3 separate regions of the Homo sapiens genome follow, and all the other regions are linked to region 1. The links are contacts of gene promoters, found by promoter capture Hi-C in human tissues and cell types (Jung and others, 2019). All regions are on one chromosome and are shown on one strand. The core of a region is centred on a gene start or on the middle of the fragment in contact, and the rest is flanking DNA. Distances in the headings are between cores, read along the strand shown. Region 1 holds the start of KCNRG (potassium channel regulator). Region 2 overlaps DLEU1 (deleted in lymphocytic leukemia 1). Region 3 overlaps DLEU1 (deleted in lymphocytic leukemia 1).

Region 1 (3,343 bases), core at 554-3,053:
GCCTCCTGAGTAGCTGGGATTACAGGCGCGTGCCACCACGCCCAGCTAATTTTTTGTATTTTTAGTTGAGACAGGGTTTCACTGTCCCTTAAGACCATCCTGTTAGCCAAGATGGTCTTGATCTCCTGACCTCGTGATCCGCCTGCCTCGGCCTCCCAAAGTGCTGGGATTACAGGTGTGAGCCACCGTGCCCAGCCAAAGACTGCTCTTAAAGCACCTTTTTGACAGTGAACATGGTCTAAAAAAGGGAAGATATTGTAGAAGATTTCACACACACACGCGTGTGTGGGAGACAACTAAAGGTATTGAAGGTACTAATTAATTAGATTTCCAAAATTTTCTACAGAGAGTTAATTATCACCAAAATGTGAATGGTACATACAAAACCTGGCATTTTCTTGTGATAAGTTTACATTTTTAGGAGAGTGGAGCTTTCAATCTGCCCTTTTCTCCTTTGTTTTTGTAGTTTTCACCAAAGATGATCAACTAGAAATGTTAAGTGGCTATGCAAGCAAAAGCATAGATAGGTTAAAAAAAAGGATCAGCTGGCTGGGCAGGGTGGCTCATGTCTATAATCTCAGCATTCTAGGACAGTGATGTGGGAGGATTATTTGAGGCTAGGAGTTCCAGTTCGAAACCAGCTTCGTAAACATAGCAAGACCCAGTCTCTACCAAAAAAAAAAAAAAAAAAAAAAAAAAAAAAAATATATATATATATATACACACACACACACACATATGTACACATACATATATATACATATATATGTATATATAGAACACATGGCAAGAGCAGGAAATGGGAAGACTACCTTTTTTCTGGCAGCTATGTGTTGTTTTGTTCGAAAGATGGCAAGTGTACAACCAAACCAATCCACTTGCTTACAGAAAGAATGTTTAGTGTAGTTAAGACTAATTTGACAACAGATAAAACAGTCTGTCAGCTATTACAAAGTAATCAGCTGAACACTAATGCTGTTCTGTCTGCTCACAAGAGATAAAGATACCCTCTCATGGAATAAACACCTTGCTTAGAATTCATATAACAAAGAAGTAACCTTATAACTGCTCTCTAGTCTGCCTTATTTGTGTCATAGAGTAAGATATTCCTTGAAAGCCCATTAAGTGGAATAGACTTTCTGAAAATAAGAGTTCTTTACCTCAGTCCTCCTCTAATTTGGTTGAGAGGAGGTAATGAAAATGGGGACAGGATAAAAGGTGGCAACTAAATTTAAAGCACAGAAGAAATGATTTCCTTCTAGCTATGAGAATAGTCAAATTGAGCTTGCCAGGCTGTCTCATTCCTAACATGTAATTCATGATTTAGCCACTAAATTTCTAAGGAGATCATAAGAAATTAAGAAAAACGTTTAAGTCTAGCCTCTGCGTGGTAGACAGGTATGGGGAGGGAGAATGCTTTTCCCCTCCCAGTAATAAAAAAAAAAAAAAAAAAAATATATATATATATATATATATATATATATATATATATATATATATATATATATATAGTTTTACTAGGTTTTCATGGATAAGTTTTTAAATGTAAGACAGGAAAGGGATCTATTTGATGTCTATCTTCAGATATATTGGCAGTTTTCCTTAAGCTATTTAGTTCCTCATCTGTTGCTTTTTCATTTTGTATACTGCAAGTTCCCAGGCAACTCGAATTTGCAAACACAGCCATGGATACACTATTTACCTTACAGTAGTTTCCTGGGAATCTAAGTCTGGTTTTTGTTATTCTTCCCTCCCCTCCACTGCATAATCATGTATAACTAGCAACATTTATGGTTATAGGTTGATTTCCTAAGTGTGGCTGATGGTAGCCTCTAGTTTGAAGTGAGGGAAGAATGAGTAGTCAGGAACTGGTCACTTTGAATGTGGGAGGGAAGATATTCACGACAAGGTTTTCTACGATAAAGCAGTTTCCTGCTTCTCGTTTGGCACGCATGTTAGATGGCAGAGACCAAGAATTCAAGATGGTTGGTGGCCAGATTTTTGTAGACAGAGATGGTGATTTGTTTAGTTTCATCTTAGATTTTTTGAGAACTCACCAGCTTTTATTACCCACTGAATTTTCAGACTATCTTAGGCTTCAGAGAGAGGCTCTTTTCTATGAACTTCGTTCTCTAGTTGATCTCTTAAACCCATACCTGCTACAGCCAAGACCTGCTCTTGTGGAGGTACATTTCCTAAGCCGGAACACTCAAGCTTTTTTCAGGGTGTTTGGCTCTTGCAGCAAAACAATTGAGATGCTAACAGGGAGGATTACAGTGTTTACAGAACAACCTTCAGCGCCGACCTGGAATGGTAACTTTTTCCCTCCTCAGATGACCTTACTTCCACTGCCTCCACAAAGACCTTCTTACCATGACCTGGTTTTCCAGTGTGGTTCTGACAGCACTACTGATAACCAAACTGGAGTCAGGTATTTTGTACTTTGCAGTATTTCTCTTGTATACCAGTTTGTGATGTTTTCTCTAAAAACTTGAAGTTCCTCAGGCCTGTAACTTCTGGAAAAGATGATTATTCAAAATAATGTTTTGGGGTAACCAGTGGAGTTGGGTAGAATGACCAAATAATTATTTTCCAAACTGGGATACTTTTTAGAGTGAAAGGGGCTATTATTAGGTGGGACAAAAGGAATAAATGAAGACTGCCCAGAAAAAACTGAGACTATGGACATTCAAATCATGGGAGAAAATAATTTTGTAGATTATGTTCCATTGCTAATGAATTTGACTTAGAAAAGAATTGCCTTATTTTTAAGAGATTGTTTCAGTGGTTCACATAAAGGCTCGCTCACTGGTTTCTCTTGAGTTCCTTACACACTATATAAGTTGTTCTTTCAGTTTTATGATTCAACTACTGTTTTTCCTTCAGCTGACTTTATTTTTAAACACCCTTAAAGACAGATATATCTCATGGCAAATTTGGTATCCTGTTACAGCCTTGGCTCTTAAACAACTCAAAATATTGGGATAGGCTGTCAGTATGTTAAGGATAGTTGCTCCTGAGTCAATTCTTCACTTACTCCCTCTGTTGTTCTTGGCTGGATCCTAACGCTGATTTCCACTCTGCTGTCACAAACATTTTTCCCCCCGTAAAATGTCTTAATGCTGTCCTACCATTATTTTACCAACTGTGAAAGCTGGCTTTAATTTTTAGGAGGAAAAGAAAAGCCTGCATGTGTTCTTTATTGGTATCATTTAAAATATACTTTTTTTTTTTTTTTTGGTAAAGGTAGGCGTATTTTAAGATATTTTCTTAACTTGAGCAGTAGCCAACAGGAAGGATACCAGTGTCTCTCTCTCTTAGCGACACACTCCTTGGTCTTGCT
Region 2 (3,343 bases), core at 353-2,852, 180 kb after region 1:
TGGAACTTTTAATTTTACATTTAAGTCCTGTTTAGTTGTAATTCTCACTCCCCCAGCCCCTGTAGCCTCCTGAACAGCTCTGACTTGCTTTTTTTCTGAATCCAGCATCAGTCCTACAATTAGTCCATTGGCCAGGTGATGGTCATGTGCCTGGTTAGAGTAGGGCAGGCTCCATTTGCTGATGGGCTGTGCGACTCAATGTTCACAAATGTTTAGTCATTCAGCTCCTTTTCAAGGAATAAGCCTGGATCAGGCAAGTAATTAACCTTTGCTAGTCCCAAGGTTTGTTCATTAGAGGCAGGGAAGGAGGAATCTTCTCACTTTTCTTCTCAGTCCTACTGCTCGCCCCAGCTTTATGAAACATGAGCTATGTCCTAAGGGAAGAGCAAGTGGGCCTCAGGTCCTCAGAAAGCACCACAAAACTCTTAAAATATTAAGCGTAGGAGTCTATTGTTCCTTTGTTTTCCTGGACAGGGAAACCTCTTTAACATTGGACTTCATTGTCTGTACCCCATTTCCTGTTCTTACAGTGGCTGTTCAGTCAGCATGATGGCCGGTGGGACCTGGAGGTCCAGCAGCAGCTAAGATGTCCAGGCCCTACTCGTTTGTACCCCTGGTAGCATTCTGCCTTAGATATGAGAGACACTTCCCAGGCTCTTCCTGCATTTCCATCTTATGCTCTGGCAAGCAAATGCCAATCTTGGCTCTTTTCCACTTAAAATAGTCCTTCTACTTTTTATCTGCTGTGTAAATTGGGGTTAGAAATATTGACTTAAACTGCACCAGACTCTGCTGCCAGCTTGCCCATTCTCCATTACCCAAGTCTTCCTCCCTAACAGAACCCAGAGTTTGTTCATATATTGGCAGCAATGTACTCAGCCCGGGCAATGGATCTTGACTGGTTTCAGCCAATCAGAATATCTTCTATTAAGGATAAGGATAGCTTCCCTGCAGCTAGGGGTGGCTGAGTAACCTTGTTCTGACCAGTAAGATTTAAGCAGCAGAAGTCCACTGGGAAGAAGGGAATGGGGAAGGAAGACTCCTGGGAAAGCTTTTGTGCTCTTAATAAAAGAGCAGAGAAACTGCTGTGCTGCTTGCCCCTTCATCTTGGCTTGAAAACAAATGTATTGCCTGGAGCTGAGGCAGCTATTTTCTGACCATGAAGTAATAAGCCTTATTGTTTGACATGTGAATGCAATAAACCTCTACCCACATAAGCTACCTCCATTGAAGGATTCCATACTTGGCACAGAATTTCTAACTGACACACACTAAAATTCAGATATAAAAAAAAATAGTTTCTGTAACGTTTTGGTAACTGATTTCATCTCTTCCTGAACCTTTGAGGTTGAAAGTGGTGGCAGCAGAGGTGGCAGTAGCCACTTACCTTTATCATTAATGATAAGTTAATTTATTTTGGGGAAATGACTCAGTTGTTCAATTTTCCTTCCACTTGCCTCTTCGAGATGATATCTGTGGTAAATGGGTGTGAGCTCTTAAGCAGTAGCATGATCTACTGGCTCACGCTTGCTTTTCAGAGCTGATTGTTAAGTTTAGGGGAATTCTGCAAGTCACTTGTTATATGCAACCATTATTAGATAAGTTATATAAACTTACAATATTAAAAAGAAAGGTAGTACTCAAAACTCACCACTTTTTAATTATTTAAGTACATTTTACTATTATTCTTGCAATTGAAGTTATTTATGTCTTTTTGTTTGTTTTAGAGACAGGGTCTTGCTCTGTTACCCAGGTTGGAAGCCCAGGCCGGAGTGCAGTGGCACAATCATAGCTCACTGCAGCCTCAAAGCTCTGAGCTCAAGTGATCTTCCCAGCTCAGCCTCCCATGTAGGTGGAACTATAGACACTAGCCACCACGCCTGGCTAATTAAAACAATTTTTTTTTTAGAGACTGGGGTCTTACTGTGTTGCCCAGACTGGTCTTGAACTCCTGGCCTCAAGTGATCTTCCAGACTCAGTCTCCCAAAGTGCTGAGATGACAGACCTGAGCCACCACACCCAGCCTATTTGTGTCTATTGTATCTGTAAATGGAAATACTATATAATGCCGCAGTTAGCATGAGAGTACAGATATCTCTTTGACATACTGATTTCATTTCCTTTGGATGTATACCCAGGAGTGGGATTGCTGGATCATATGGTAGTTCTATTTTTAATTTTTTGAGGAGCCTGCATACTGTTTTCATAATGGCTATGCTAATTTACATTTCCACCAACAGTGTACAAGGGTTTCTTTTTCTCCACATCCTTGCCAACATTTCTTGTCTCTTGTCTTTTTGATAAAAGCCATTCTAATGGGTGTGAAGTGATATCTCATTGTGGTTTTGATTTTCATTTCTCTGATGATTAGTGATTTTGAGCATTTTTTTTCATGTAGCTGTTGGCCATTTGTAAGTCTTCTTTTGAGAAATGTCTATTAAGATATTTTGCCCATTTTTAAATAGAAAAATCCTCTACTTTTGACTTTTCCCTTAACCTTCACCTAAAACCTCTCAATTTGAGATTTAGGTCCAAGGCAAAGAAACCATGTTTTCCTGCTTATGTCTCCATCTTTTTAACGTCTTCTTACCCATCACCATGAGCTTTTCTTTTCCCTTCTGTTTGGTAGAAAATAGTTTTAAGTTATTTCATTCTCCTTCCTGAGGAGTTGCTTTTTCCCTTTCTCTGAGGCCATATTGGTGAAAAGGCTGCAGAGAACCTGATTCATAGGGGAGAATGAATTAAAAATACATTTTAATGTATATAAAAAACTATCACCATCACGCTTGTAACTATGAGTCACCTTGTCCACCCTTCCACTCCTCACTACTCCAGGGTTCCACAGACCTGAGAGTAGGGACTGTGGTGAAGAATGACTGGCAGATATACAGCAACTGAAAAGGCACCACGCTTTTATCTCAGTTGCATTACCCTTTGTATATCAGCACTTAAAAAGGGATCTTTTAAATAACATCCTTGAATCCTTTTGGGTGGTAGAAGTAAAATTGGGGCTAAGCAAGAATGAAATGGACTTTTAGAAGTTAAAATAGGATGTTGTATGGGCAAATGTATGAGGTAGGAAAATAATGTTGTCACTGCTTTGCTATCTCCATTTTCAACAGCTCTCTCAGTGCCTCTGGCATCTCCTTCTTTTGCTATGTACCAGCCCTGTCACCTAGTCCCTCCCACTATTAATCATTAATGACTTAAGATGTTACCACCTCCTTAATTGTATTTAAAAGTTAAAAAAAAACATGCTTTTATTCTTTCCCATTACAAATAACAATTCATATTCCTTTTAGAAAAATACAGATAAACATAATAAAAGTCACTTACAATCCAT
Region 3 (3,343 bases), core at 574-3,073, 140 kb after region 1:
TTAAAATGACACACTTCATTTCCAACTACCAAGTACAATGTTCACCTTTATTCTGTTTGTTTTCGCTTTGTCGTGCTACTGAAATATGTGTGCATGTGTATTTAACCAAAGAGAAACTCACTCCTAACCCCATATTTAGTGGTGGGACCATCCCTTATTTAGTGAGGCTGTTTTTTTTCCCCCCAGACCCGAGTTGTTGTTGCCCATGCTGCTGAATTCCCAATATGAATAAATCATAATCATATGATTATACTAAATCAGAGGTTTCAGTACCCTTCCACAAAGTGACAATAAAATGCTCATTAAAAAAAAGAGTAGGTTGTGTTCAATGGTGTTAATTTAAAATTTTAATGCTCAGGCCAAAATGCCAGAAAGTGAACCTCAGTTTCTTGGTAATAATAAGGTGAACTGGCTTCCAGCAGAGAGATTTTGTGGCTTCTGTATCCTGCCGCTGCACTTCTCCCTTCTCCAGCCTCCTTTCTATTTGGTGGTGCAGAATCACCTTGGTCAGCCCTTTGACCTTGCCTGGAAAAAAGTCCTCATCAGTGAGTGAGTGTGAGGTTAGAGTGATAAAGATTCTAAAGGAATGCCTTGTTTTGATTCAAATAGTTGGATTAGTCACAGAGTTACTTAATCCACACACATAGTAGAATCCTCCAGCAAGCTTCTTTGTTTTCATCAGAGCTTTTGAGAGATTATTATATTATATCTCTATCTTTTAAAGATAGAGTAGAAATCCATCTATGAAGAATAGTTTTAGGTGCATTCCTGCCTGAACACACATTTGGACAGTCTTATAATTATGTATCTTCCCGAGATGCATTTTGAGCCATTTCTACCCAGAACTTAAAAAAATATTTCCTATGAGTGCTGGAGGTTCTTGCTTCTCTTAACCCACTAACTTTTTGAAGCCATAAGAATATCTTATTAAGGATTATGCAAAATAACGTCCTACAAATCCTGATATTATTACACTGCCCAAAAAACTTCAAAGCATCAGGAAAGTGTTGTGTTTTTTTTTTTTTTTTTTTTTTTTTAACTAAACCAGATTCAGCTGGCTACCCCACTTGGCTACAGAGTACTAAAGAAGAGACTGAACTTGATCCTGCTGCCCTTGCATACACAACACTCCCATTGACGCTAGTGAAGACTTAAGCGCATGAAAGGATTCCAGGATCAAAAGGTTAGCTCTATGGGGAGCTGTGTCTGGCTCAAGCAATCCATTTTTTTCTATTGACAGTGAAAACGTTTTATAGTTCTTTTTCAAAGTTTTCCCAAACTTTTACAATAACAGGCAACTTGTGAAAAAGTGAGAAGGCATCTAATTGAACTATATCCAGAGGAGATCATGGCAGAGACCAACAGGAAGAAAAACATTTCCAAACCACAGCGATATTGGTCAAATCAATTGTATTTGAAGAATAAAGCATTTGAGGCGTCGGCTGAGAAAAATTTTCATTATGAAACTTGGTTGGACTATGAAGCAGAATGTGAGATAAAATAAAACACAGAGCTCATGAGTTTTTATCTTTGTCTGCTAATGACTTATGCTAGCAGGATTATACTTTTTTTTTGCATTTTATGAGATGTATGAACTAGGAAGAAAATACATGCTATATCTAAATGGATTAGACGTGCAGATTCTTAACTAACATTTAATTCATTGCTAGTAAAACAAATGCCTTAAAACATTTAAAAAAGTGAAATTATCTTAAGGAGATAATTAACAAGCAGAGTAGAATAGCATTTTTGAAGAAAGTGTAATATGGTTCTACACTGGCATTTTCTGCATTTATTGAAGATACTTAGTCTATCCAACAATTCACTCATTCATTCTTTCATGAAACCCTGTCTCTACTAAAAATACAAAAAAAAATTAGCTGGGCACGGGGGTAGGCCCTTGTAGTCCCAGCTACTCGGGAGGCTGAGGCAGGAGAATGGCGTGAACCCGGGAGGCAGAGCTTGTAGTGAACCAAGATCGCGTCACTGCACTCCAGCCTAGGTGACAGAGCGAGACTCCGTCTCAAAACAACAACAACAACAACAACAACAACAACAACAACAACAAATTTCTTTGTGCACTTACTATATGCCCAATGCTAATCTAATAGTTTTACAAGACCTCAATTGAACAAGTGTCTGAGGAAATGGATTGCATCTAATAAAGCAAGACACACCAACTGTGGATGGGTGGTGTGTCTAGAGTATTTTGCATTCCTAAATCACTCTTCTGGAGAAAATTTGTATCAATAATTTTGTCTAGCTTCACCTGGAGTTACACATTTTGATTGGTAAGTGGCTTCTGTGATTTGCCTCTTAGAAATACATTATAATGTTATCCTAATATATGTACTAGGACAGACAATGCTACGTTGAACTAACTTGAATAGCATATTTTATAATCATAAAACTGATATAATATTATAGTTTTGATCTTAATCCTCCTCTATTGTATGAGCAATGGAAAGTCTTGGTGAGGAGCTTGTCTAAACATTTCTCTTGCATTTTCACATAATTGGGCTTGACAGTTTCCTGCCATTGTATAGGATAACTTCAGTTGATGGTGATCATGTTTTTGCTTAAGGGTCATTGAATTGTATTAGAAATTTTATACCATATTCTTGTAATCCTATAAGTCATTTTTGAGTTACATTATTGAAAGTGAACAATAATGTACCACAAAACAAAAGTTACTCATGCAGTTAAAGCTTTTTTTTGTACCTAGGTTTAGAAACTACAAGTCCACAGAGAATAGGGCTCGTGAAATAAATGAAAATACACGCTCATCTCCACCCACTCCTTGTTGTTGGGGCCTGGTCAGATCTGGTGAAAACATTAAGCCATTTGCCTTAAGTGGTATTGGCAAGTTAATTTATTCACCTTCTGGAAGGTACCAGGCTAGTGCTTGCAGAGGCAAGATTTTTTTTGGGTGAAGGGAGCAAACTTTTCCACTTAACATGTGCCCATGGAAATCAGGTACTTCTTTTTTCAGCTACCTTAGCTTCTGTTGGGAATTTGAGGGTGTTTTATGGGTTATGTTCTTATACGGTGGTTAAGTAGGCTTGCTGAAATGGATCTAGAAAAGACCCAGGTCAGTCACTGGTTGAAAAAGGGTTGACAGAAAATTAAGGAGATATGACTGAGAGCAGTTTCTCTTTCAGGTCCCCAAATTTCTCCTCTAGCCAATTCACATTAAGGTCTGAAATTTCCCCCATTGGTGTCATTCCGGCCATTGTTTCCAGAAGGGACTTTCAAAAATGCAAATATGTTCCTGTGGAGCATTTGCACATTTGGTGAGTTTGTCAGCCTAAATGAGCAGTTATCTTTGGAACTAAGAAAGAAG

The links. The method cuts DNA at HindIII sites, captures the fragments that hold promoters and counts their contacts. A contact is called where the count stands out against the background at its distance.
Region 2: a contact is called between a fragment that was not itself captured here and the fragment with the promoter of KCNRG in region 1, in 3 of the 25 tissues and cell types used here (heart left ventricle, mesendoderm cells and spleen).
Region 3: a fragment that was not itself captured here is called in contact with the fragment with the promoter of KCNRG in region 1 in 2 of the 25 tissues and cell types used here (adrenal gland and liver).

The regions. Positions count from the first base shown.
Region 1 is chr13:50,013,641-50,016,983 of GRCh38, forward strand. KCNRG (potassium channel regulator) reads left to right here and starts at 1,804. Exons shown (of 2, transcript NM_173605.2): 1 at 1,804-2,431. The coding sequence starts at 1,854. TRIM13 (tripartite motif containing 13) reads left to right here. Exons shown (of 2, transcript NM_213590.3): 2 at 1-3,343. All of the region lies in intron 10 of DLEU2 (deleted in lymphocytic leukemia 2), which reads right to left. The HindIII fragment of the contact is 16,932 bases long and covers 1-3,343 here.
Region 2 is chr13:50,191,662-50,195,004 of GRCh38, forward strand. All of the region lies in intron 2 of DLEU1 (deleted in lymphocytic leukemia 1), which reads left to right. Among named protein-coding and RNA genes, the nearest start is that of DLEU2, 68 kb to the left of the region's middle. The HindIII fragment of the contact is 7,991 bases long and covers 1-3,343 here.
Region 3 is chr13:50,155,779-50,159,121 of GRCh38, forward strand. The region is part of intron 2 of DLEU1 (deleted in lymphocytic leukemia 1); the gene reads left to right. Among named protein-coding and RNA genes, the nearest start is that of DLEU2, 32 kb to the left of the region's middle. The HindIII fragment of the contact is 5,908 bases long and covers 1-3,343 here.